Regions from separate parts of the Homo sapiens genome. Here all the other regions are linked to region 7. The links are contacts of gene promoters, found by promoter capture Hi-C in human tissues and cell types (Jung and others, 2019). All regions are on one chromosome and are shown on one strand. Each heading gives the region's core, a stretch centred on a gene start or on the middle of the fragment in contact. The rest is flanking DNA. Distances are from core to core; before and after follow the strand shown.

Evidence for each region. Contacts are between HindIII fragments. The study calls those that stand out against the background at their distance.
Region 1: a fragment that was not itself captured here is called in contact with the fragment with the promoter of BIK in region 7 in 1 of the 25 tissues and cell types used here (lymphoblastoid cells).
Region 2: a fragment that was not itself captured here is called in contact with the fragment with the promoter of BIK in region 7 in 1 of the 25 tissues and cell types used here (H1 embryonic stem cells).
Region 3: a fragment that was not itself captured here is called in contact with the fragment with the promoter of BIK in region 7 in 1 of the 25 tissues and cell types used here (spleen).
Region 4: a fragment that was not itself captured here is called in contact with the fragment with the promoter of BIK in region 7 in 1 of the 25 tissues and cell types used here (dorsolateral prefrontal cortex).
Region 5: a contact is called between a fragment that was not itself captured here and the fragment with the promoter of BIK in region 7, in 3 of the 25 tissues and cell types used here (dorsolateral prefrontal cortex, pancreas and thymus).
Region 6: a contact is called between the fragment with the promoter of A4GALT here and the fragment with the promoter of BIK in region 7, in 2 of the 25 tissues and cell types used here (lymphoblastoid cells and mesenchymal stem cells).

The regions. Positions count from the first base shown.
Region 1 is chr22:42,662,733-42,666,420 of GRCh38, forward strand. No RefSeq gene overlaps it. Among named protein-coding and RNA genes, the nearest start is that of CYB5R3, 15 kb to the left of the region's middle. RefSeq lists a silencer at 1-14. The HindIII fragment of the contact is 5,947 bases long and covers 1-3,688 here.
Region 2 is chr22:42,769,723-42,773,283 of GRCh38, forward strand. No RefSeq gene overlaps it. Among named protein-coding and RNA genes, the nearest start is that of A4GALT, 51 kb to the left of the region's middle. RefSeq lists a silencer at 1-44 and an enhancer at 1-26. The HindIII fragment of the contact is 5,875 bases long and covers 1-3,561 here.
Region 3 is chr22:42,607,389-42,610,986 of GRCh38, forward strand. All of the region lies in intron 1 of POLDIP3 (DNA polymerase delta interacting protein 3), which reads right to left. LOC124905127 (a long non-coding RNA gene) reads right to left here. Exons shown (of 2, transcript XR_007068118.1): 2 at 1,347-1,574. Among named protein-coding and RNA genes, the nearest start is that of POLDIP3, 5.7 kb to the right of the region's middle. The HindIII fragment of the contact is 5,591 bases long and covers 1-3,598 here.
Region 4 is chr22:42,796,829-42,800,695 of GRCh38, forward strand. It overlaps ARFGAP3 (ARF GTPase activating protein 3), which reads right to left. Exons shown (of 16, transcript NM_014570.5): 15 at 2,211-2,332; 16 at 1-777. The coding sequence ends at 760. Among named protein-coding and RNA genes, the nearest start is that of ARFGAP3, 59 kb to the right of the region's middle. RefSeq lists an enhancer at 2,715-3,009. The HindIII fragment of the contact is 4,920 bases long and covers 1-3,867 here.
Region 5 is chr22:42,747,735-42,751,811 of GRCh38, forward strand. No RefSeq gene overlaps it. Among named protein-coding and RNA genes, the nearest start is that of A4GALT, 29 kb to the left of the region's middle. RefSeq lists an enhancer at 839-1,400. The HindIII fragment of the contact is 7,860 bases long and covers 1-4,077 here.
Region 6 is chr22:42,719,336-42,723,132 of GRCh38, forward strand. A4GALT (alpha 1,4-galactosyltransferase (P1PK blood group)) reads right to left here and starts at 1,535. Exons shown (of 3, transcript NM_017436.7): 1 at 1,462-1,535. RefSeq lists silencers at 975-1,104, 1,185-1,414, 1,445-1,634. The HindIII fragment of the contact is 38,593 bases long and covers 1-3,797 here.
Region 7 is chr22:43,108,338-43,112,294 of GRCh38, forward strand. It overlaps BIK (BCL2 interacting killer), which reads left to right and starts at 2,413. Exons shown (of 5, transcript NM_001197.5): 1 at 2,413-2,466. RefSeq lists silencers at 2,363-2,532, 3,063-3,282 and an enhancer at 2,480-3,038. The HindIII fragment of the contact is 22,290 bases long and covers 1,927-3,957 here.

The DNA.
Region 1 (3,688 bases), core at 117-2,616, 450 kb before region 7:
GCGCTGGGCGGCGCCCTCCCCTGCCTTGCCCTCGTGGGGTTACTCCCCGCAGAGCTCCCAGCTGGCCCCCCAGGACTCGTGGGGGTGAGGGGAGGGGGATGTGAAGCTCCCGAATGGAGGCCGAGAGGGCAGCGGGGCAGGGGATGCTCAGGAGTTCAAGTCCAGCCTGGGCAACATGGCAGGGCCCATCCCAGGGTGTCCAGGGCAAAAACAGTTCCCGCTCATGGGCTCAGAGAGGTCACGCCTGCCCCTGCCGAGGACAGAGCCTGTCACAAAGAAAACGGCACGCTCTGGAAGTTTCTTCCATCCCTTTCCACCTCCTCCTTCAAAACAGAGTCTGCGTCCTTTTGGCCGGGCTCGGTGGCTCACGCCTGTAATCCCAGCACTTTGGGAGGCTGGGGCAGGCAGATCACGAGGTCAAGAGATCGAGACCATCCTGGCCAACATGGTGAAACCCTGGCTCTACTAAAACTACAAAAATTAACTGGGCGTGGTGGCGCATGCCTGTAGTCCCAGCTACTTGGGAGGCTGAGGCAGGAGAATCGCTTGAACCCTGAAGGCGGAGGTTGCAGTCGACAGAGATCATGCCACTGCACTTCAGCCAGGTGACAGAGCGAGACTCTGAGACTCCGTCTCAAAAAACAAAACAAAACAAAACAAAACAAAAGAAAGACAGGAGCTCCTCCCCTTCTATAATTACAAACTTTTAACAGTTTTCCCTCAGGTTATCATTTTTATTTCATGAGAAAGTTCTGGCTAATGAGAACCCAAAACCCAAAGGAGGTGTTGATTTCAGGCACAGTGCCAGGTGCCTCTAATCCAGCCAGGAGCTAGGGGCTGCTCTGGGAGCTGCTGGGTGAGGAAGGGGTGTTGGGGGTCTACGCGTTTAAATCCCTATTAATGCCAGGCGCAGTGGCTCATGCCTGTAATCCCAGCACTCTGGGAGGCCAAGGTGGGCGGATTACCTGAGGTCAGGAGTTCGAGACCAGCCTGGCCAACATGGTGAAACCCCATCTCTACTAAAAATACAAAAATTAGCTGGGCTTGGTGGCACATGCTTGTAATCCCAGCTTTCAGGAGGAAGAGGCAGGAGAATCGCTTGAGCTCAGGAGGCGGAGGTTGCAGTGAGCTGAGATTGTGCCACTGCACTCCAGCCTGGCTGACAGAGCGAGACTCTGTCTCAAATGAATAAGTAAATAAATAAATAAATCGCTGTCAGCCATGGAGCCAGGCCTAGGTGCTGAGCCCAGTGGCGGTGGGAAGATGGGTTTTCTGAGCACAAACTCTGGGTTGAACCGTTTCCCAGGGAGCTTCCTGCAGAGTCTGAGCAGGTGAGGACCAAGGAGGTGAGGCCCAGGCCGATTCAGCTGGAGGAGTACACGCTGCTGCAGGACCTCAGCCATCTCAGGCCACCTGTCCTCCTGGGCCTTTCCCGTCACTGAGGCCACCTGTGCCTTCTGTGAAACACTGCCCCATTAGTTCAGAGTTCAAAGAGGGGGCTGTTACTGAGGCCGGAGGGGCCTGGGCCTGGGCTCTGACACTGATACTGACCTTGAGCTGGTGACTTAACTCCCTGAGCTTCAGTCTACTTGTCTATAAAGTGGGAATAATTCTACCTACTCTATTCCCAGCAACCTTTTTCAATGGCCCAAGCCTCAATTGTTCTCATCTGTAAAATGGGCTTAACCATGGCCTTTCCTGTGTATCTTACAATTTTGTAATTAAATCCATCCATCAGTTATCAAATAATAGTAATAAAGAAATGAGAGGCTGGGGCAGTGGCTCACGCCTGTAATCCCAGCACTTTGGGAGGCTGAGGCAGGTGGATCCCTTGAGCCCAGGAGCTCAAGACCAGCCTGGGTAACATGGTAAAACCCCATCTCTACAAAAAAATACAAAAACTAACCGGGCACGGTGGTGTATGCCTGTAGTCCCAGCTACGTGGGAAGCTGAGGTGGGAGAATGGCTTGAGCCTGGGAGGCGGAGGTTGCAGTGAGCCAAGATCGCACCTCTGCACTCCAGTCTGGGTGACAGAGCCAGACCCTGTCTCAAAAAAAAAAGAAAAAGAAAAAAGAAATGAGACTGCTTGCTATATGACTGGCACTGTGTACGTGCCTTAACTCATCCATTTCTCCTGGCCACCCTGGGAGGAGAAAGCCTATGTTACTGCCATCCCACAGAAGAGAAAACAGACCAGTAATTCACACACTCAGCATCACACAGGTGAACGTGCTGCAGATGCAGGCAGTCTGGCCTCACTGGCTGCCGCCCTCTACCCAGGCTGCCTCCCTGTACACAGGCTGCCTCCCTGTGCCCAGGCTGCCTCCCTGCGTACAGTCCACCATGCCAGGGCCCGGAGCATGGTGGCCCTCAATAAATAATGGTTGAATGAATGACACTGCAAAAGTGCCTGTAGGGTGGAGGTCCAGCACAGCTGCTCCGACGTACCCAGGTCAGACTGGAGTGGTCTGAGGGCATCCACACACCATCCTGCTTGCTGAAGCAGGTGAGTACCACAGGTTTTGCATTGTAACATGCAAATGATGGCATGTATTTCTATCCTCATCTGAGATCTGGGACTTTTATGGGTTTCCTGGTATTCACAGGGCAAGGCCTTTGGGAGAAAGCTTGAAACCCCCTGATGTAGTTGACAGAGCATGAGTTTATCCTCAGAGAGACCACAGTTCAAATCTTGGCTGGGTGACTACTTTTATGAGCCTCACTTGCTTCGTCGTGGCAGCCCGAATTGGCCTGACGATTTCCTGCAAGTTCCTTGACACCTGGAGGAAGATCATAGTACCCAGCCCTGAGCATCACTGACTTGGCATCACAGATCACCTCTTCTAGGGAGCAATCTGTGGCTGATGGAGGAGAGTGGGGATACCAGAAGAAAAAATTTAACTGCCTGGAAAGTACCTTCCTGGTGGCTTTCAGTCATCTCAGCTCCCCAGATGCCCTACTTTTTGCTGGAGTCACATGCTCTGCTCTTGCTCTCTTCAAGGTAACAGATTCTTGTCCGTTTGCAGGCAGCAACTTGAGAAATAGAAGAAGAACAGGTCTCAGACCGCATTTATTCAGATGTCAGTGTGGATAAGCACCATGCCAGTTTCTGTCCTAGGCGCAAAAACTGCCAAGATATTTTTTAAAATCTTTTACTGCGAGGCTAAGTTTATAATAAAAGAAACTAACCTCATTGCTTAAAAAATGAAATTAGGGCCAGGCAGAGTGGCTCACGCCTGTAATCCCAGCACTTTGGGAGACTGAGGCAGGTGGATCACTTGAGGTCAGGAGTTCGAGACCAGTCTAGCCAACATGGTGAAACCCCATCTCTACTAAAAATACAAAAATTAGCCAGGCATGGTGGTGCACACCTGTTGTCTCAGCTGCTTGGGAGGCTGAGGCAGGAGAATTGCTTGAACCCGGGAGGCAGAGGATGCAGTGAGCAGAGATCGCGCCACTGCACTCTAGCCTGGGCGACAGAGCGAGACTCGGTCTCAAAAAAAAAAAAAAAAAGGAACAAACAAACAAAAACTGAAATTAGGTGGGGTGCAGTGACTCACGCCCGTAATCCTAGCACTTTGGGAGGCTGAGGCGGGAGGATTGCTTGAACCCAGGAGCTGGATACCAGCCTGGGCAACAGGGCGAAACCCCATCTCTACCAAAAATACAAAAATTGGCCGGGCATGGT
Region 2 (3,561 bases), core at 1-2,500, 340 kb before region 7:
GGCCCTGGGTGCCTGGACAAACAGGGGCCTTCCCAAGCAGGGCGTCGTGGTGTAGACAAGGGCAGCCAACCGTGCGACAAGGAGGACAGCCACAGGGCAGCGGAGAGGAAGTGAGAGCTTGTGGGAGAGGTCATGTCCGGTGCGGGGGCGAACGGGGCCCCCACAGCCCAGGAGCAGGCCTCAGGGCACAGGGCACAGGGCACAGGTGGGTTCTCAGCCCGGCTGGGCGGCACCCTCTCTGCCCAGCGCCCCTGCAGGACCCCGCCGACCCGGCGGGACCAGCACAGGTGTCGGGCAGAGGGAAGCCGAGGAGCCCCTGATGTCTGGCTGCCGCCATCCGTCTGTCCGTGCTGGGCTGCAGCTGGCGTGACCTCCGCTGTGCTCCTGTTTTCGGCGAGACCAATGACTCACGCGAGCAAAATGATAAGAACCACAAACAGGGAACGCGGACGGGAGTGGGAGGGAGCAGAAGGCACGTGGTCCTGTGTAAATCCATCCCGGGACGCAGTGCAAACAATGGTCTCTGAGCCCACGTAACCACGCAGAGCGGGACGTTCCGGGATCAGTGGGGAGAGTCAGCTCCTTCCCGAGCCAAGCAGCAGCTGCGTGGGGGAGGGTCGCAATTATTTATTTTTGAGACAGGGTCTCGCCCTCTTGCCTAGGCTGGAGTGCAGAGTTACGATCACAGCTCACTGCAGTCTCGACCTACCAGGCTCAAGCGATCCTCTGGCTTCAGCCTCCCGAGTAGTTGGGACTATAGGTGCATACTTTCATGCCCAGCTAATTTTTTTTTCCCCAGTTTTTTGTAGAGATGGGGTCTTACTATGTTGCCCAGGCTGGTCTTAGACTTCTGGGCTTAAGAGATCCTCTTGCCTTGGCTTCCCAAAGTGCTGGGATTACAGACATGAGTTACCATGCTCAGCTGGGGAGGGGTGCAATTTTTATTTTTATCTTTATTTTTTTGAGACGGAGTTTCACTCCGTCACCCACGCTAGAGTATGATCTCGGCTCACTGCAACCTCCACCTCCCGGGTTCAAGCGATTCTCGTGCCTCAGCCTCCTGAGTAGCTGAGATTACAGGCACCCACCACCATGCCTGGCTAATTTTTGTATTTTTAGAGACAGGGTTTTGCTGTGTGGCCCAGGCTGGTCTCAAACTCCTGAGCTCAAGCGACCCCCCTGCCTCGGCCTCCCAAAGTGCTGGGGTTACAGGCGTGAGCCACTGCGCCCGGCTCTGAGGTGATTTCCTAATGCTGCATTTTAAGAGAGAATTTGTTCCTGGGAAAGGCTGTGTGTGTAAGACGAACCTCTGTCTCCCACTCCTCTCTCTTTGCTGACCCGATTCCTCTTGGCGCAGAGGTTCAGAAACATCCCCTGGCCCTCACTGGCTTCATCTCAAGAACAGAAGTACAATAAGTACCTTTTCCGCACCACTGCCTGAGCCCTCAGTCCAGCCTTCACCGGTTTCCACCTGGTCCTTGGATTGTCGTTATCACCTTTTTCTTTTTTAATCGATAGATCCAAAATGTGTTTTGTTTAACAAATATTAACTAACATCTTTCATATACTAAGCACTCATGCAAAATGATTACATAATAAAACACAAAAGCTGAAAGATGAATGGGCCAAGAACACACACTAAACTCACACACACACACATCTGTGCACTCAGGCAGGGGGAATGGGCCCACCAGATGGGACCGGCCACCCGCCCCACGGCTGAGGGAGCCTGCCTGGCAGGGTCCAGCACTGGGCCCAGCATCCTCCCTGAGACACCTGTGGCTGCTGGGCCCTAAAAGCATCAGATGGAAAGCTTGGGAAGGAGTCCCAGTGAGGCCTGGGGTTGGACGGTGCTGGGGAAACCCACGTTCATACGTTTGGAGTTAGAGAGAGCCACCTAGGGCTGCCTTTCACTCACCCTCCATGTGAAATGGGAATATGACCTGCTGGGAGGGTTTCTGGAAGACGGAACGACCACACAGCAACCGGTCGAGTCCAGGCCCCAGCCTGGAGCAGGCTCTCCCAGTGTGGGAAGTTTGTTGATGTCTTTTTCTGAGACAGGGTCTCGCTCTGTTGCCCAGGCTGGAGTGCAGTGGCACAATCACAGCTCACTGCAACCTCTGCCTTCCTGGGCTCAAGTGATTCTCCCACCTCGGCCTCCCACGTAACTGGGACCACAGGCATGTGCCACCACGCCCAGCTAATGTTTGCATTTTTTGTAGAGACAAGGTCTCGCTATGTTGCCCAGGCTGTTCTTGAACTCCTGGGCTCAAGCGATTCGCCTGCCCCAGCCTCCTAAAGTGCTGGGATTACAGGTGTGAGCCACCGTGCCCGGCCCCAGTGTGGGAATTTCCTACGGACACTGCTACAGATGGAACTGTGACATCACCAACCCCATCTTCAATATTCCTATCCCCTGAGTGACTGTATTGGCGATAAGGTGTTAGAAGGACACAGGGGAGGGCCCTTCCACAGGAAGAGGAACAGGTACCGGAGAGCTCTCCCTTCCCCTCTGCACACACAGAGGAAGGCCATGTGCGAGGGGGGCCACCTACAAGCCAGGAAAAGAGGCCTCACCAGAAACCAACCGCGATGGCGCCTTCATCTTGGACTTCAGCCTCTGGAACTGTGAGAAAATAAAAGTCTGTTGCTGAAGCCCCAGTCTGTGGGATCTTGTCACAGCAGCCTACCCTCCCGGAGACTGACCTACACATCTTCCCCTCCCCTCCCCTCCCTTCCCTTCCTCTCCCCTCCTCTCATGTCCCCTCCCCTCCACTCCCCTCTCCTCCCCTTCCCTTCCTTCCCCTCCTCTCATCTCCCTTCCCCTCCCCTCCCTTCTCCTCCCCTCCCCTCTCTTTTCCTCCCCTCCCCTCTACTCTCCTCTCCCCTTCCTTCTCTTCTCCTCCCCTCCCCTCATCTCTCTTCCCCTCCCCTCCCCTCTCCTCCCCTCTCCAGGCACAGGCAACCCAAGGCTAGAGATGGGACAGGAGGATGGGGTGAGTGGGAGCAGCCTGTGAGATCCCCTGGAGAGGCCTTGGTGGGGCTGAAAGAGGAGCAGAGGTGGGAGTAGGCACAGGGCCCTACAATTGTAGGAGAACTCCAGGCTCCCCGCTTGGCTGAGCCGATCCTCCACCCCCAGCCCATCAGCAGAGGCCCACCTGCCCCTCTCATCTCATCTCCTGGGTACTCCAACTGGCTAAACAACAGCCCTACCCCCAGTGCTGTGCCTTTGCACATGCTGCCACCCCCATCCCCGCTCCTCCTGCTCTATTGTGGCAGCCTCTCCCCAAAATGCAACCCCAGGGCCCTGCCCTCAGAAGGCCTCCTGGACCGCCAAGCCCTCATGTGGCCCTGCTGTCCGTCCCTGCAGCCTCCGTCCCTGAGCCTAGACCCTGAGCCTGGCCCGACAAGGATCTGGAGAACATGACATCACAGTTGATACAACAGAGTCTCCGATGGCCCGACCCAGGCAGAGACCTCGGATCTCTGTGGAAGGACGAGGTCTGGAGAGCAGCCCCTCCTCTGGGAGGGAATCCCAGGGCAGCCGTGCCTGTCCCCTGT
Region 3 (3,598 bases), core at 522-3,021, 500 kb before region 7:
AGACGGAGTCTCGCTCAATCAGTGCTCGTTGCCCAGGCTGGAATGCAGTGGAGTGATCTCGGCTCGCTACAACCTCCACCTCCCAGCCGCCTGCCTTGGCCTCCCAAAGTGCCGAGATTGCAGCCTCTGCCCGGCTGCCACCCCGTCTGGGAAGTGAGGAGCGTCTCTGCCTGGCCGCCCATCGTCTGGGATGTGAGGAGCCCCTCTGCCCGGCCGTCCAGTCTGGGAAGTGAGGAGCGCCTCTTCCCGGCCGCCATCCCATCTAGGAAGTGAGGAGCGTCTCGGCCCGGCCGTCCATCGTCTGAGATGTGGGGAGAGCCTCTGCCCCGCTGCCCCGTCTGGGATGTGAGGAGCGCCTCTGCCCGGCCGCGACCCCATCTGGGAACTGAGGAGTGTCTCTGCCCGACCGCCACCCCGTCTGGGAGGTGAGGAGCTTCTCTGCCCGGCCACCCCGTCTGGGAAGTGAGGAGCCCCTCCGCCCAGCAGCCGCCCCGTCTGGGAAGTGAGGAGCGTCTCCGCCCGGCAGCCGCCCCGTCTGGGAGGGAGGTGGGGGGCAGCCCCCGCACAGCCAGCCGCCCTGTTCGGGAGGTGGGGGGCGCCTCCACCCAGCCACCACCCCGTCTGGGAAGTGAGGAGCCCCTCTGCCCGGCCGCCACCCCGTCTGGGAGGTGTACCCAACAGCTCATTGAGAACGGGCCATGAAGACGATGGCGGTTTTGTCGAATAGAAAAGGGGGAAATGTGGGGAAAAGAGAGATCAGATTGTTACTGTGTCTGTGTAGAAAGAAGTAGACGTGGGAGACTTCATTTTGTTCTGTACTAAGAAAAATTCTTCTGCCTTGGGATGCTGTTAATCTATAACCTTACCCCCCCCCCCAAAAAAAAATTAGCTGCAAGTGATGATGCACATCTGTAGTCCCAGCTACTCAGAAGGCCAAGGCAGGAGGATCAACTAAGCCCAGGAGGTCCAGGCTGCAGTGAGCCAAGATCACACCACTGGACTCCAGCCTGGGAGACAGAACAAGACCCTGTCTCAAAAATCAAAACAAAACAAAACAAAAAAAAACCACCACCACCAAAACAAAAAGAAACAATCTTCCTTATCATTATTGTCTGGTATTTCAGTTTCAATATGTTGTTAAACCCTTAAAAATTTATACATATATATAAAGGAAGGATAAACAGTCCGCAGGCTGAAGAAATCTTAGGACTCCGGTCATGCCCAGGGATACGGAGCACTCTCTAGCGACCAAAGGGTGAGCACAAGCAGCGAGGCGAGCGGGTGGTGCACGCACTGAGAACTCGCATACCACAATGCCTGCCTGGCAGGAAGGACCACCAAGATGCTTTGTGCTGGCATTTTTATCTATTTGAACAGCCTAAAAGGCACATTTAGGGGTGGGAGTTAACGGTAGTTGAGGATGTAGTAGGAGCTCCTCACGGTGGGAGGGAGTAAGCTATTTCCCTCAATCTGATGCACTCAGTTCCCTGGTTCCACCAGTGCTTTCAACTTCTTTCGTGAACAGCTTGAGGGGGCTTCAGTGTTCAGGCTTTTTATAATCACAGCTGCTCTTCCTGCATGAAAAGACAGCTATTCATCCCAGCAGGCAGCAGTACTGGTTTCAGGCAGGCATTAGTCATCGGAAATTTTTCAAATCAACACTCCTGCCAGGGGTAGGTCTCTAAAACACAGACTCAATTATGTTACCCTCCCGCTTCTAGAACTGCTGGGGGCTCCTTTACAAAGCCCAACCCCTGGGGGGGCCTCGGCTCTGGCTCCAGCTTATGGCTGCAGCCTTACTCCCCACTGCAGTGACTACTGACGTTCCCAAAACACATCCTGCACTTTTATCCTCAGTAAATGTTTGGGAGGGCGAAGGAGGAAGGTTTTGACTGAGTCTCGTAATGCCCCACCTCCATCGCACCGAAACTACAGCTCTGCAACTGCTTCCAGGGCTTCACCAGGTATTCCGCGAGGTCCTGGCAAGAGCGCTGCTGGCAGGTGAGAAGGCAAACGTTCCCTGGACCCCAAATTCTCTCCTCTATACCCCCTACGGGAACCTGGCATAGGTGTGATGACCAGGGAGGGTCTGTCTGGGCTATAGGAATATTTCACCCTCCTGGCTCTGTCTGGGGAGGGCAGGGCTACAGCCCATTCTGGACAGATGTCCAGTCCAAAAGATTCAGGCCCATGAAGTGGGGCCCTGGATTATTATAAAGCAGATTTTAACCCATGGGTTTAAAATCCTCTGGGTTATGGGAGGCAGAGGTTGCCATGAGCCAAGATCGCACCACTGCACTCCAGCCTGGGTGACAGAGCAAGATTCCGTCTTATAAAAACAAACAAAAAAAGCTTCTGGGTTAGGGGGTGTTCGTTTAGGTGTGTGTTTAGGTCATTTTTATAGAGAGAAAACAGCTTAATTCTAACTATGACTGAGGGTCAACTCTGAATTAGGTGTTTAAGAGACACAAAGAAAAACAAGACACTAAAATACTATCCCCTGCTGGGCGAGGTGGCTCACGCCTGTAATCCCAAGCACTTTGGGAGGCTGAGATGGGCGGATCACTTGAGGTCAGGAGTTTGAGACCAGCCTGGCCAACATGGTGAAACCCTGTCTCTACTAAAAATACAAAAAATTAGCCGGGCGTAGTGGCCCATGCCTGTAGTCCCAGCTACTCAGGAGGCTGAGGCAGGAGAATCGTTTGAATCCAGGAGGTGGAGGTTTCGGTGAGCTGAGATCGCGCCATTGCACTCCAGCCTGGGCAGCAAGAGCAAAACTCTGTCTCAAAAATAAATAAATAAAATAAAATACTATCCCCTTACCCAAGAGTCTTGTGCAGATGTTTCATTTTAAAACATAATTCGTTCCCTAGAGTTATGTAATAACTCATTTCCTCCCTTTTGTGTTTAGGTCTTTATTTCCTTTATCTTATTTCAACAAGGAAACAAGCAGTCAGTACCAGGACCAGAGTCCTGGGCTGAACTGCAAAGTTTACAATCCACCCTGTCCCCCAACAACCTCCCACTTCCAGCTCCAAGGACTCCCCAGATGAGGCGTCTGGCCCAGAGAGCTGCTCAACTCCAGCCTCCAGCACATTCAAGGCTGCCACACTGAACTGCTTGGAGGCAGCTGACAGAAAGCTATCCGCTGAGGGTTAAACTCATCGAACTAACAAAAGCGGACATGTCAACTGACTTAACTGGGGATGCCCTCATATCTAAAGGAAGAAACTGCTGGGCACAGTGGCTCACACCTGTAACCCCAGCACTTTGTGAGGCAGAGGCAGGAGGACTGCTTGAGTCCAGGAGTTCGAAACCAGCCTGGGCAACATGGCGAGACCTTGTCTCTACAGAAAATACAAAAATAATTAGCCAGGCATGATGGCATATGCCTGTGGTCCCAGCTACCTGGTAGGCTGAGGCAGGAAGACTGCTTAAGCCCAGGAGGCAGAGGTTGGAGTGAGCTGTGATCTTGCCACTGCACTCCAGCCTGGATGACAGAGCAAGATCCTGTCTCAAATAAATAAAGGAAAAAACCAACATGAGGGGCAGGCCAGCACTGCAACTGGTACCTAATGCTATCCTGAGGAGACTCTCT
Region 4 (3,867 bases), core at 1,122-3,621, 310 kb before region 7:
TCATTCCACTTTAACTCTGTATACCGTATTGATTTGTGATGAGATGATTTATTATGAGAACTCTTAGGGAGTTCTCATCTTCCATTTCTCATCAATTCAAACAGCAACACCTTTCACAAGATAACATTAATTCCCTTGGCAGGGCAGAAGCTTAAGTTTGTTAAAAGCACTCACTGAAAAACATTTTTAAATTTATAGGTCATATAAAATAATTTACAAAGAGACAGATGACTTCAAATATTATTTGGCAGTCACCTTACTATGTAGAAACATAAATGAAGCAATCTGTCACACGAGACACCAGTCACTTTTGGTCTTTTGAAGGAAGTGTGTGTGGTGAGTGTTGTTTCTGCAGGCCCATCCAGCATCCGCTGATTCTGGCAGCCCTGAGCCCATGTGTCACATGGAGACCTCTCCTCCTCCCCCACATGAAGCCTCCTGGTTCAGGAGCAGGAGGAGCCGAGGTCTCCAGGCCCTCAGTGTTGAAATCAAAGGTTCCAAGAAAATAAAGCAAGGATATACACAGAGACGCCAAAGGAGGGTGTGACAGGAAGGAACGTGAAACAGAAATCACAGGAAAGCTCCTACATCAGAACTCAGAATTTCTCAAAAGAAATATTAAAAATCAGAAACATATACCATATGAAAAAGTAGCAAAACAATCTGCAAAACTATCTGGACTTCACTGCCGCCTGAGATGTGGTTACTTGTTCATTTAAAGAGGAATTTCTCCAGGAAATACACATCATGACTTCAGTATTAAGAACCGTAGCGATCCTGAAGAGAGAACCAAAATGGAAGTTCACGACCATTCAGCAGCGATCCCTGACTCCCACGCCCTGAATATTCAGCATCACCCAAATTGACACTGCAGCCCATGTCAGGCATGTGACATGGACGCTGCACCCCGAGGGTGTGCTCATCTGGAAGCAGCCATTGCTGCAGCTTCAAGGCTGAGGGTAGGTGTGGGCTTCAGAACCCAACAGGATTCACATCCTGCCTCTGGCATCCACGGCCACAGTCCTGGGATCAGGAGGCAGGGAGCAAAGTGGGCGGGAGGATGCTCAGTGGGCCAGAGGCAACTTGCTGAGCCCTCTGGGAAGCAAGTGGGAAACGGAAGACAAAGGAACACATTTGGTGTTTGAAGCCCTGAAATTTTGGTTCAGCTGGTCATCTTGCAGAAGTGACCTAACCTTCTGTGCCTCAATTCCTTCACCTGTAAAATGGGGATATAAAAGGGAGCCATCTCTAAAATGGGGATGACCATCTATAAAATAGGGATGTTACCTATTTGGACACTGATGTGGGCTTAGCTGACCTAAGGGACATGAAAGAGCTCTATGCATTTTAACTTCAGTGCCACATGAAAGGGAAGACTGTGCTATTCACAGCATGAAAACGGCTACATCCAGAGTCCTGGGGCTGAGGGAACTCTCCGGAATGGGTGCACCTCCACGCCCTCCTTGAACTGCAGCTAGAGCAGCATCTGCCTGGGGACCAGGAATCTCCTTTGGAGGCACCAGAGTCCACACGGTTTCAGTCCTACTTCCTTTAGCAGCGTTTTACATTAATACAATCCTTCTTCAATAGCCTGACGTAAACAAGAAGGTGCAAAGAAACGAGCCACTCATATCGTCACAGATGGCCTCGACTCTCATGCGCAAGTATGCGCCATCCTTGGCTTATGTTTTCACTCAATAGAATGTGGTTTTAGGAAAACTTTTCATTACAAGGAAATGCTCCCAGCATCACAGAGAAAAAGCAAGATATAAAACCCTCTATACAATATAATCCCTTTTTAACTTTAAAAAGATAGATATGTATATCTTTTTAATCTACGTATAGAAAAATATCCTTAGAAATCTAGAGCTAAAAATATACCAAAATATTAACAGAGGTTATCCCTGTGATGTGGCATTACAGATAATTTCAGTTTTCTTCTTAATACTTCTCTGTTCCAATCTAGGAAAAAAACTGGACAATGGTCATGACAATTCCTCTAACAATTCCCCTAGAGTCATCCGTTAGAAAATATTAAATATAAAATTATAATTTCTGGTTTTCATAATGTTCTGGGTTATAGTGTAGCAAACATATCGATCCAATAATATATAATTGAATTTTCCAGCAGTTGAAGATTGAAGCAGGTCTCATTTTCAAACTGCTGAACCTACCGTCATAGCCAGTGAGCACTGCCCCATTCCACTGACCTGAATTGAAGTCACGACTCCATTAGCAAAGACGGAGAGTTTTCCAGCAACCGATCTCACTCCCTGCTTGAACTGCGCCATGTCGGGGGCGTTGGGCAGCACACTGGACAGGCTGTAGTTCCCTGCACACACACAGCAGACACTGTCTCATCACTGCCCTGGCCACAGCTGCGGCAAACCCAGTACCCAGAGTGCTCAACGGCTCCAGAGAACCCGGATCTCTCCCCTCCTGCTGCCTCACAAGGGGCCCAACAGTGGGATGGAGACTCGGGCTGAAGTGGCAGCCCTGCCATGATCCACATGAGAGAATCCACACGACAGAAAATGTAGTATGGGGGACTTAACACCACTATGAGTTCAAATCCTGGCACTGTCACTTCTAGGCTGTGTGCCTCTAGAGAAGTTCCTTGCTCTCTCTGGGCCCATTTCCTCAAGGTGCTTAACATAGCCCTGGCAGGTAAGTACCCAGCAAAAGGCAGATGGGCCAACACGGATGGCCTGTTTCTCATCACCTCCTCCCTCTTTTGGTAACAGTACTCCTCCCTTCCTCCAGGAACCACCTCTCCCTTCTACCCTGTCCACAGGCATGGGCACATGACCCAGGCCTGACCAATCAGAGCCTTCCCAGGGATTCATGTATCCTCAAATGAGAAGAGCCATTTGCTTGCTCTGGGGTTATTGGCAGGGACAAAGCAAAGCAGCAGCCATCTGTGACTACGACTGCCCCTCCCACTCGCTTGGGGTATGGAGGAAGCTTGTTACCTCCCCCAAGGAGGTGAGCCAAATAGATGCATCACTGATGCTGTCTGACTGTGACTTAGAAGCCAAGCTCCACTGCCAGTCTTCCCAGGTACAGAAGTTCACACTTCCACCCTCTTTGCTAGGGCCGGTGTTAGTGGCCCTAAGTTTTGTTAGTTGTTAGTTTTGTTAAGTGTTAGTTGCTTAAGTTTTGGTTGCCCTGATGTAAACATCACCATAATTGCTACCAATCTGGGTGAAGTTCATCAGGGTTATCACACATCAAGGAGGTCTGACCACACTCCTAGAGCTGACAATCAGGGGTTCATAAACTTCTGTGTCACAATTGTAATAAGACGCTGGAGGGGCTCAGTGAGCTCAACACAAACCCTGCAGGTCCTCAGGAGTAGCCACGCCCAGCTACTCCCTAAGCCCCACATGACACCACCTGCTCCTTACAAAACAGAAACCCACCAGACGCAGTGGCTCACGCCTGTAATCCCAGCACTCTGGGAGGCTGAGGTGGGAGGATCACTTGAGGTCAGGAGTTCAAGACCAGCCTGGCCAACATGGTGAAACCCCATCTCTACTAAAAATACAAAAAATTAGCTGGGCATGGTGGCACACACCTGTAACCCTAGCTACTTGGGAGGCTGAGGCAGGAGAATCACTTGAACCTGGGAGGTGGAGGTTGCAGTGAGCCAAGACTGTGCCACCCCACTCCAGCCTGGGTGACAGAGCGAGACCCCATCTCAAAAACAAAAACAGAAAGCCTTGGTCAAGTCCCTCTCTGAGAATAAAACAGAACTGACAAGTTACCCTGCAACGTGTCCCTTGGAAGAGACACTGCATTTGCCCCCAGCACTGTTCCCATGCCCACCACAGATGCAGGTCCTCCCATCTCCACCTCCAGCTGACT
Region 5 (4,077 bases), core at 1,045-3,544, 360 kb before region 7:
AGACCAGCCTGGCCAACATGATGAAACCCCATCTCTACTAACAGTACAAAAATTAGCTGGGCCTGTAGTCTACAATGCAAAATGGTCCCTGCTGACACTCTTCTTGTCTAGACCTCTAGGGTGTGACTCTCCTGGGCCTAGGGTTTGGCTAAGGCTGGTGTCATAGGACCGACATATTTGCATGCCTGTTGCTCAGTAGCAGACCAGGACACTGAGACAGCAGGGTTTGCAGCAAAGAAAGAGTTTAATGATTGCCGAGCACAGAGCAAGGAACTGGGAGGGGACCCTCAAATCCACCTCCAGAGGAGTTCCGGGCTGGGGCTTTTACGGGGATCCTATAAAGAAGTCAAGGGGTTGGAAAACTGGAGTCATTGATTGGTGGGGGCAGGGAGATGAATTCGTCAGGATGTGGAAATGGCTTTTTTTTTTTTTTTTTTGTGAGTCAGTTCTTTGTGGGATCTTTCAGACTAGCTGGCGTCAGTAGTTTCATCCGGATGCAGGCCCTGAAAGAATATCTCAAATGCAAAAGTGAACGTTTCATGACATACAAGTGGCTGTCTACAGAGCAGTTAAGGGGTGTTAGCATCCTGCGACAGGGTCTGTGTGATTCTGAGGCCGCCACAGGCACTGCATGGCTGTGAGGCAGCTGGTCAGAGAGCAGGCTGCTCTCAGAGCTCATGCTGAGTAGCTTGCAAGCTTGGCTTGTTTCCGTTTTTCCCTCCTCTTCCCTGATTACTTTTTTTTTTTTTTTTTGAGATGGAATCTGGCTCTTGTCGCCCAGGCTGGAGTGCAGTGCCGCAATCTCAGCTCACTGCAACCTCTGCCTCTTGGTTCCAGCGATTCTCCTTCCTCAGCCTCCCGAGTAGCTGCAATTACAGGCGCCCATCACCACACCCAGCTAATTTTTGTGTTTTTAGTAGAGACAGGGTTTTGCCATGTTGACCAGGCTGGTCTCAAACTCCTAACCTCAAGTGATTTGCCTGCCTCAGCCTCCCAAAGTGCTGGGATGACAGGTATGAGCCATTGCACCGAGCCCCTGATTAATTTTATAAATTTTATAAGGAGTTTCCCTGGGACCCCTATCTCCAGGGTTTGGCTATCCTGGGCTCCCCTGCAGCTACATTCCCAGGGTCCTCCCATCTGAGGCTAGGAGGGGCCTCATCCCTTCCGAGGCTTAGGTGGGGAGGCTGCCAATCCCTCCCCTCCGCCTGCACCTGCCTCTAACCCACTGCCCTCCTGCTTGCCCCAGCCTAATCCTCTGAGGGAGCCCCAGTTTCTGCCACTCCAGGGTGTGTGGGTGCTGGCCAGGGAGGCTGTGATCTGGTTGCCCGCTCTGTCTGCTTTCCCAGAGACAAGCGAGCCGAAGGCCTGGCCTCTTTGTTGGGATGGGAAAGAGAGATGCCCCCACAGCAATGAGAAGCGCTTGGTTATTATCCCAGTCGGCACCAGCTACTCCAGGCAACTGCGCTTTGCAGCCTGCAGGATGCAGGCTCAGGGACTCGAAGAGGACATTCTGTGGCCTCCCCAGTGGCACCACCCTCTCCTGGCAGCTAGGGATCCACCCTCCCCAGCCATGTAGGCCTGGTGGCTGGCTCTTAACCTCCCATGCCAGGTGGGGGTGCCCCTGCACTACTGTCCGTCCTCAGGCTGGCTGCTCCCACTCCCATGGTCCCTGTGTTCGCAGCCTCACCACTGGCAGAAAAAATAAGCATCACTGGTTGGGCGCGGTGGCTCATGCCTGTAATAACAGCATTTTGGGAGGCCGAGGCAGGTGGATCACTTGAGGTTAGGAGTTCGAGACCAGCCTGGCCAACATGGTGAAACCACGTCTCTACTAAAAATACAAAATTAGCCAGGCATGGTGGCACATGCCTTTCAAAAAAAAAAAAAGCATCATTTCATCATTGCATCATTGCTGGGCACAGCTCCTTCCCAGGCAGGTCTGAGCTTGTTGCCCAGGGTAGGTTCCCAATACTCAGCAAAGCCTTTGCTACTTCTGTGCTTCCTTACAGTGTGGGCCTCACAGAGTTGTTTTTTTTTTTTTTTTTTATGGAGTCTCACTCTGTCACCCAGGCTGGAGTGCAGTGGCACAAACTCGGCTCACTGCAACCTGTGCCTCCCAGGTTCAAGTGATTCTCCTGCCTCACCCTCCCGAGTAGCTGAGATTATAGGTGCACAACACCACGCCCAGCTAATTTTCTTTTTTATTTATTTATTTATTTATTTATTTATTTTTATTGATCATTCTTGGGTGTTTCTCACAGAGGGGGATTTGGCAGGGTCAAAGGACAATAGTGGAGGGAAGGTCAGCAGATAAACAAGTGAACAAAGGTCTCTGGTTTTCCTAGGCAGAGGACCCTGCGGCCTTCCGCAGTGTTTGTGTCCCTGGGTACTTGAGATTAGGGAGTGGTGATGACTCCTAACGAGCATGCTGCCTTCAAGCATCTGTTTAACAAAGCACATCTTGCACCGCCCTTAATCCATTTAACTCTGAGTGGACACAGCACATGTTTCAGAGAGCACAGGGTCGGGGGTAAGGTCACAGATCAACAGGATCCCAAGGCAGAAGAATTTTTCTTAGTACAGAACAAAATGAAAAGTCTCCCATGTCTACCTCCCTCTACACAGACACGGCAACCATCCGATTCCTCAATCTTTTCCCCACCTTTCCCCCCGCTCCATTCCACAAAGCCGCCATTGTCATCCTGGCCCGCTCTCAATGAGCTGTTGGGCACACCTCCCAGACGGGGTGGTGGCCGGGCAGAGGGGCTCCTCACCTCCCAGCAGGGGCGGCCGGGCAGAGGCGCCCCTCACCTCCCAGACGGGGCGGCTGGCCGGGCGGGGGGCTGACCCCCCCACCTCCCTCCCGGACGGGGCGGCTGCCGGGCGGAGGGGCTCCTCACTTCTCAGACGGGGCGGCCGGGCAGAGACGCTCCTCACTTCCTAGATGTGACGGCGGCCGGGAAGAGGCGCTCCTCACTTCCTAGATGGGATGGCGGCTGGGCAGAGACGCTCCTCACTTTCCAGACTGGGCAGCCAGGCAGAGGGGCTCCTCACATCCCAGACGATGGGCGGCCAGGCAGAGACGCTCCTCACTTCCCAGACGGGGTGGCGGCCGGGCAGAGGCTGCAATCTCGGCACTTTGGGAGGCCAAGGCAGGCGGCTGGGAGGTGGAGGTTGTAGCGAGCCGAGATCACGCCACTGTACTCCAGCCTGGGCGCCACTGAGCACTGAGTGAACCAGACTCCGTCTGCAAACCCGGCACCTCGGGAGGCCGAGGCTGGCAGATCACTCGCGGTTAGGAGCTGGAGACCAGCCCGGCCAACACAGCGAAACCCCGTCTCCACCAAAAAAATACGAAAACCAGTCAGGCGTGGTGGCGCGCGCCTGCAATTGCAGGCACTCCGCAGGCTGAGGCAGGAGAATCAGGCAGGGAGGTTGCAGTGAGCCGAGATGGCAGCAGTATAGTCCAGCTTCGGCTCGGCATGAGAGGGAGACCGTGGAAAGAGAGGGAGAGGGAGACCATGGGGAGAGGGAGACCATGAGGAGAGGGAGAGGGACAGGGACAGGGACAGGGAGAGGGAGAGCTACTCCCTGTGTTTGATTCCCCTCCAAGAGCCCTAATTTTCATCTTTTAATAGAAACGGGGTTTCACCATGTTGGCCAGGCTGGTCTCGAACTCCTGAACTCAGGTGATCTGCCCGCCTAGGCCTCCCAAAGTGCTGGGATTACAGGCGCATGACACCATGCCCAGCTAATTTTTGTATTTTTAGTAGAGTCAGTTTCACCATGTTGGCCAGGCTGGTCTCGAACCCCTGACCTCAAGTGATCCACCCGCCTCGGCTTCCCAAAGTGCTGGGATTACAGGCGTGAGCCACCGTGCCCGGCTACGCCCTGCTGATTTTTGTATTTTTAACAGAGATGGGGTTTCACCATGTTGGCCGTGCTGGTCTTGAACTCCTGACCTTGTGATCCGCCTGCCTCTGCCTCCCAAAGTGCTGGTATTACAGGCATGAGCCACCGCGCCTGGCCACGCCTGGCTAATTTCTTTTGTAATTTTAGTAGAGACATGGTTTC
Region 6 (3,797 bases), core at 285-2,784, 390 kb before region 7:
GCCTGCAGTCTCAGCCACTAGGGAAGCTGGGGTGGGAGGATCGCTTGAGCCTAGCAGTTTGAGACTACAGTGAGCTGCCACAGCATTCCAGCCTGGGTGACAGAGGGAGACCCTAAAAAACAAACAAACAGAAAACTAATGACAGAGAGGATTCCATCTCTCCTCTTCCTTTCTTTTCCTTTCTATTTTGTTTTCCTTTGTATTCCTTTGATTTGGGGACCCTCTTTTGGGGGGTTGCAGCTATGGAAACACAGTGTAGCAGGGTTTCGGGTCCTGGAGAAGGTTTGAGGCTGGAAGAGGGCTGTGGGAAATCTTGAGGGAGGCCTGGCTCCATCCGCACTCTGCTATGGGACCCTGGGCAGGGTGGCTCCCTCATTCTTTGGGAGGAGGTGACAAAGGGGAAGTCTTTGGGCAGCTGGTGGCGGGAACGGGAAGGCCAGACCTGGCCTGAGACCCACCAGGTGCTCGGGGTTATTTGCTGAGTGCAGGGTACGTGACCCCAAGGGGCCTTCGCGGAACAATCACTCGACGTTGGCGGAGGGGAGGAAGCCGCAGAGAGGGTGTCGTGAGGGAAAGGTGGGTGCAGGGGAAATGGCGCTTTAACCCACTCAGGGCCAGAGGCTCAGCCGAGACTATCCAGGTGGGAACTTGTCCCTCCGGATGACAGGTGATGAAACTGAGGGAAGGGGACTCGCCCTGGCAGTGAAACGGGATGGGCGCTGGGACCAGGTGCCCCGGCAGATCCTCTCCCAAGCCCAGTTCCGCTCCCGCTCAGTCCTCAACCTTCCCCAGCTGGAGAGGAGGGAGGGGCGCCTGCGGATCCGAGGCGAGCGCGGAGGCCGGGCGACTCCAACCGGCTCGCCCCGTGCCCAGCTCGTACCCAGGCCGTTTCCCGCACGGGGAGGGCCCTTCCCGCTTCTGGGCAGGTCCAAATCCTCACCCTCCCTAAGGCCGGCGCCGACGCTGCCAGCCCGGCAGAGCCCCCTCCTGCCGGCCGCTCTCCATCCCCGTCCCCGGTCGCATCCGCTCCGGGGCGAGCACCGCCCGACGCCCAGGCTTCCCCCGGACGGAGGAGCGCGACTCACCCACGGTGGCCGGGCAGAGCCTGCCTCGAACCCGGCTTCTCCCCGACGCCCTCTCTCCAGCCCCGGGACCCAACCGGGTGGGGCTGCCCTCGAGGGCTCCGGAGCCAGGCGCGTCCTGCCCGCGAGGGCCGGGGCTCCGGGTCCCGCCGCCGCGCTCCACTTCGGGGCGCAGTTGGGGTGGAGGCGGTGGCCGGGACCGCCGCGCGGGGTTCGTGCGCGCACAAATGTCGCCTCCAGAACAGGTGGCCCGGGCTAGGGCGGCGGCCCAGCCCCTCCGCCCCTGCCCCTGCCTTCCCGAGGCGCCTCCTCCCCACTGCGAGCCGCAGGATCCCCCTGGAGCCCCCGTCCCCCGCAACATCGGCGCGGCCCCTCGTACCTCTAGCTCCAGCGGCGGCGGGCGGCGGACAGCGGGGCCCCGGCGGGCGGGCGGCGCGGCGGCCGGAGGGCAGTGCCTGGGGCCCGGCGGGAGGCAGCACCGCCCCTCCGGCCCGGGGCGGGGTCAGGCCGCCCCGCCCCGCCCGTCCCGACCTACCCTGCGGGTCCCGGTCCCCAGAGCCCTTGCGGGGTCCCCGCGACCCCGCCCGCGCGCCCTCGCTGCTCCCCGGGGCGGGTGCGGACAGTCCCCAGTCCGCCGGCCAACAGGTAGGGAGCGCTCCCCGGCCTCCGCGCCGCCAGTATTACGGGTTACCATCCCGTTTTCCCCATTGAACTGATGAGAAAACTGAGGTTCAGAGGGTTGAGTACCTCGATATTCTGCAGTGGAGAAGGGACGCTGTCACCCCTGGGACCCGGGTCGGCCTGATCCCACCGCCTCCTGCCGGGACCGTGCTAAGGGCATTGCCTGCATCACCCCAGTGTTTGCGGAATTCCAGTTATTTGCTGTATCCTTAACGCCGCCCCGTCCTTTCTCTACTCCTCCTCCTCACTCTCACCTCGCCCCATCTTCACACATATTGCTATTGGTAATTTGTTCAATGTGAGAAATTGGAATGTATCACACACAATTCGTGTATCATAAAACTGTATTTTATTCTCTTTGGAACATGCCATGTTTCCAGCATGTCACAGTCCTGGTGCTTTTAGTTCTTACTCCTCTGGGACAACAAAGACTGCAAAAAATGAAACCATTGGGTGACTTCTTGAGTGCTGACGCCCATCCTCTCACTCAGCTGATGACCCAGTGCCCAAGCCACTGAGAAAATGGAACCTCTATCCTAGCCCTGAGAAAGAGCCTGGCACTCAATGGGTGCCCAATAAATACACTTCGAATGAAGGAATCAGTAGAAAATTCCCACCAGCTCCCCCACCCACCCGCTGAGGTAGCACCCAGTCCCTTCCCTCTTGGGACCGGGCTGAACCCGTCCAGCTCCTGGCCACGACCACCCCCTCCAGAAGATCCCGACCCTTCACGCCAACACTGATCCCGAAACCCTGCCCTCTCTCCATTCTCCCTGGGTCATTCCCATCACAGGCTGTTACTTCTCCCATCTTAAAACGGAAACAAGAGGCCAGGCAAGCACTCACGCCTGTAATCCCAGCACTTTGGGAGGCCAAAGCAAGCAGGTCACCTGAGATCAGAAGTTCAAGACCAGCCTGGCCAACATGGTGAAACTCCATCTCTACAAAATACAAAAATTAGCTGGACATGCTCACTTGAACCCAGGAGGTGGAGGTTGCAGTGAGCCTAGATCATGCCACTGCACTCCAGCCTGGGTGACAAGAGCCAGACTCTGTCTCAAAAAAAAAAAAAAAAAAAAAAAAAAAAAGAATGAATGCGGACCCTTTCTCCACTGGTAATACTCATTTTTTTTTTTTTTTTTTTTTTTTTTTGAGAAGAGACTCACTCTGTTACCTAGGCTGGAGTGCAGTGACACCATCTCGGCTCACTGAAACCTCTGTCTCCTGGTTTCAAGTGATTCTCCTGCCTCAGCCTCCTGAGTAGCTGGGACTACAGGCATGCACAACCATGGCTAATTTTTGTATTTTTAGTAGAGACAGGGTTTCACCATGTTGGCCAGGCTGGTCTTGAACTCCTGACCTCAAGTGATTCACCCGCCTCAGCCTCCCACAGTGTGGTGATTACAGATGTGAGCCACGGCACCTGGCCCACTTGTAATACTTTTAATGCTTTTGCTTTATGTTGGCTTTTCCATGATCACAAATGTATTTTTCAGAGAAACTTTGTATTGCTACCCTAAATGGAACACCAGTATCTCAGAGACTAGAAGGCAACAGTAAAAATAAAACTAAAACAATGTTATAAAGCCCGGGTAGGTCCTGTTGCCCCTCCAAGAGCTGAGTTCCTCCTGCCCTCTCCTTGTTAAAAGGAAGATTCATCCCAGCACTTTGGGAGACCGAGGCGGGCAGATCACAAGGGCAGGAGATCGAGACCATCCTGGCTAACAAGGTGAAACCCCGTCTCTACTAAAAATACAAAAAAATCAGCCAGGCGTGGTGGCGGGCACCTGTAGTCCCAGCTACTCAGGAGGCTGAGGCAGGAGAATGGCGTGAACCCGGGAGGCGGAGCTTGCAGTGAGCCGAGATCGCGCCACTGCACTCCAGCCTGGGCGACAGAGTGAGACTCCGTCTCAAAAAAAGAAAAAAAAGGAAGATTCGAAAGGTGTAGAGAGATATTCAAGGCAGGCCAGCACCCAGCAAAGACTTGCCCCTGGACTTAAGCAAAGGGATTAAAGAGAATTGAGAAGGGAATGG
Region 7 (3,957 bases), core at 1,163-3,662:
GCAATTCTCTGCCTCAGCCTCCCAAGTAGCTGGGACTACAGGTGAGTGCCATCACACCCGCTACTTTTTTTTTTTTTTTTTTGAGACAGAGTTTCACTCTTGTTGCCCAGGCTGGAGTATAATGGCGTGGTCTCAGCTCACTGCAACCTCTGCCTCCCTAATTCTCCTGCCTCAACCTTCTCGAGTAGCTGGGATTACAGGCATGTGCCACCCCGCCCAGCTAATTTTGTATTTTTAGTAGAGATGGGGTTTCTCCATGTTGGTCAGGCTGGTCTCAAACTCCTGACCTCAGATGAGCCGCCTGCCTTGTCCTCCCAAAGTGCTGAGATTACAGGCGCAAGCCACCGCGCCTGGCCTAGTTTTTTAATTTTTAGTAGAGATGGAGTTTCGTCATGTTGGCCAGGCTGGTCTCAAACACCTGACCTCAGGTGATCCACCTGCCTTGGCCTCCCAAAGTGCTGGGGTTATAGGCGTGAGCCACCATGCCCAGCCATCTCTTCCTCCTTTTGATCAGCATATTGTCTTGGGATTTTGCAAAGTAAATAAGTACTGTATTTGCACCCACTCTGCCCTTGAATCATCCAGTGTCCCCAAACGGTCCTTCTTTCTCCATCTTTTCTGCTAATGTTTACTGAACATCTCCTACATACCTGGCACTGTGCCTCCAGCCTTAAGACCCCTCTGCAAGCATCTCACATATATCAGGTCTTTCGGACCCATGAGACCCCGTGTCATTGCTTTACCTCCCTGAGTCTCAATTTTTTCATCTGCAAAATGCATTCAGAGGGAAGCCCCCATTATGAAGGGTTCCCTGCTCCTGACTGTAAGGCACTCTGTGGCTGTTAGCCACAGTCAGGGCGAGCTGCTTTGTAGGGGTTGATGTAGTTTGGAGGCCCTAGAAGAAAAGACTACAGGGCCGGGAGTGGTGGCTCACGCCTGTAATCCCAGCACTTTGGGAGCCCGAGGCCGGTGGATCACCTGGTGTCAGGAGTTCAAGACCAGCCTGGCCAATATGGCAAAACCCCGTCTCTACTAAAAATACAAAAACTAGCCGGGCATGGTGGCACACGCCTGTAATCCAGCTACTAGGGGGGCTGAGGCGGGAGGATTGCTTCAACCTGGGAGACAGACGTTGCAGTGAGCCAAGATTGTGCCACTGCACTCCAGCCTGGGCAACAGGGCTAGACTCTGTCTCAAAAAAACAAAAACAAAAACAAACAAAAAAACCCCACAAAAGCAAAGAAGGTCCAGAGCCCGGAAGGCGGGAGGGGCTCTGAAGACTTTATCACACTTTACCTCCTCTGTTCCTCCCAACAGCCCAGCTCTTGGTAGGTGCTGTTGTCCATTTCACAGATGAGAACATTGAAGGGGAAGTAATTACCCTAGAGGTGGGAAGAACAGAGTGAGGGTACCCAACAGGTAGCAAACGACAGAGCTGGGGGAGGGGAACCCCTGTCCCTGCCCCTCCCCTAATCTCTGAGGGGATCAAGACAGAAGTAAACAAGCTTTGCCGTGCCCAGGACAATTGTTACTTTGTTATTCCAGGAGCGCTCTGCCTTCTCCCACCCCCAATATACCCCAGGGCTGGAGTTAGGTCCTACCCATCCCCGCGTAGCAGGCTGCCCACCCGCCCACCCCGCCTGGAAGCTTTCTGATTTCTCTGTTCGCCCCGCCAGGCGCTGTGGGGTCCGTCTCACCAGGTCTGCACGTGAGCCCCCTGCCCCCAATCCCTCCCAGTCCCGCCCGCCTCTCGCGGACCCGGAGCCCCGACGGGAGGGGGAAGGCAGTGGGTGTGTCATGCAGCTGGAAGGCTGCGGACGGGCGGCAGTGGAGGGGCAGCCCCCTGGCTTCGGGTATGGATCACTGGATGCTGCTGCTAACCAAATGTGAACCTCGGTTTTCATATTTGTGAAATAGGCTTTAAAACACCTAAATCCCAAAGCTGCCAGCCTAAGGAGCACACGTCTTTGAACGCTGGCTTCACGCTGTCATTTAAGTCATTTCGTCCTCTTGGAGCCTCGGTTTCCACGTGGGTAAAATGATCGTGAAAAAAAGCACCGAGGAGTACTTTGAGCTCGAACGGAGGCCATCCGTGTAAAGGGCCAGATTCTGTCAATGGATCGATCCCCCCGATATTGATGGAAACCCCTGAGTGCACGCCCGTGCTGGGCGCAGGGGAAACAGCGACGCACGGGACAAAACAAGCTTGCAGAACAGCAGGGGGCAGAGAGGCTGTAAACAAGCCAACGGGCTGCACTTGTAGCGGTTCTGTTGCCAATGCCATTCAGACCCCAGTCCGGGATTCCGCGCTCGGGGTGCGAGAGGCCGCTCCCGGGGAGGGGCGGGACCCGGGCGGGGCGGGAGGGGCGGGGCGCCCGGGCCTATTAGGTCCCGCGCCGGCAGCCGGGCCGCAGACACGAAGCCTCCCGGGTGGCTTACAGACGCTGCCAGCATCGCCGCCGCCAGGTGAGTGCCCCCGACCCTGCTGCCGCCCGCTGCTCCGCCCAGCTCGAGCCCGGCGGTTAGCGCCCAGGCCGCGGCCCGGGTGCCGAGCGGCTGGAAGTGTGGGGAGCCGTGCCCAGGTTTTACCGCTCCAGCAAGTCGCTGGCGGGGCGACGTCTCGGGACTCCGGCTCCGAAACGTACCCTCTCTGTCCGGGGCTCCAGGTCCCCGACGGGCGATCGTGCCAGGCGCGGCCCCTGCGGGCCTCAGTCTCCGCGCCTGTGCAATGGGGTGGTCCCTCTGCGTCTCGCCGCGACGGCTGGACGCCCCATCGCCGCCGCACAGTCCTCCAGTGCGGCTTCCGGGCACCCGGCTCCGAACTCTGGGGTCGTGCGGACCCGGCCAGACCGTAGCGCGGCAACGCCAGCCCACGGCCGCGGCCGCACAGCCCCGGTGCCCTTAAAAGAGGGAAGATGGCGTCGTGCCCGGTGCCGCCGGGACCGGCTCCCGGAGGCGCTGCGCACCTGAGGAAGGGCCGAGGAAAGGCTTCGTAACGGGACGCCCAGAAAGTCCGGAACAGGAACGTGCACACGGAGCGGCGCGCAGCCGCCCGCCCTCGCTTGCCCACGCGCCCTGCACAGGTGCGCCCCAGACTGGGCGGGGACTAGAGCCCGGCTGGGGCATGCGACCTTGTTTGGTAAATTGGAGGTGCGCCCCTGCGGGTGACCCGCGAGGGGGCCCCCCGCCTGCGGGGCGCGGTCACGACAAGGCTTGTGGGGTTCGGAGCTGGTCGTCGTCTGGGCTCTGGCCTCCTAAATGCGATCGCTTTCAAGCCCTTCATTGTCAATTTTGCTAGAATGAGCCACTCGTGGGGTAGGACGTGGTTGTTGATGTTACTGTTGTAGCTCTTACTATTGTAACATTTTTGTTGCTGTTTTAACGCAGTGTTTACTGTGGTCTGGGAGCCCGAGCTTCCCAGGGAGCATTGGTGTCAGCCTCATGTCCCCGCATTAGGAGGAGCGCAGTCTGGTGGGCACTAGCGCCGGGAAGTTCTTAACATCTGTCTGCCCCTGGGAGCAGGAGGCCTCATCTTCCAGGTGGAGAAACAGAGATTTCAGTCCCAGGAGGCACAGAAATGCCAGGGTTGTCTAGCTAGAAGCCAAGGGCCCTTTATGGAACCCAAGCCAAAACCTCTTTCCACTCTCCAGCCCTGTGGCCTCGGAAGGGCCACTCCATCTCTCTGAACCTCAGTTTGTTCTGTTCACTCTGCAAAATGTATCCCTGAGGTTTCTGGCCAGGTGAAAGCCCCTCTCAAGTTAGTAGCCTCCCTGGAGTTAAGACTCACCCCGATTTCTACTTAATTTGGGCACGCCTTTGGAATAAGTTCTCAGGAATGGCACAGTTTGGGTGTTTTTTGTTTCTTTTTGTTTTTTTTTGAAACAGAGCTTCGCTCTTGTTGCCCAGGCTGGAGTGCAATGGCGCCGTCTCGGCTAACTGCAACCTCGGCCTCCTGGG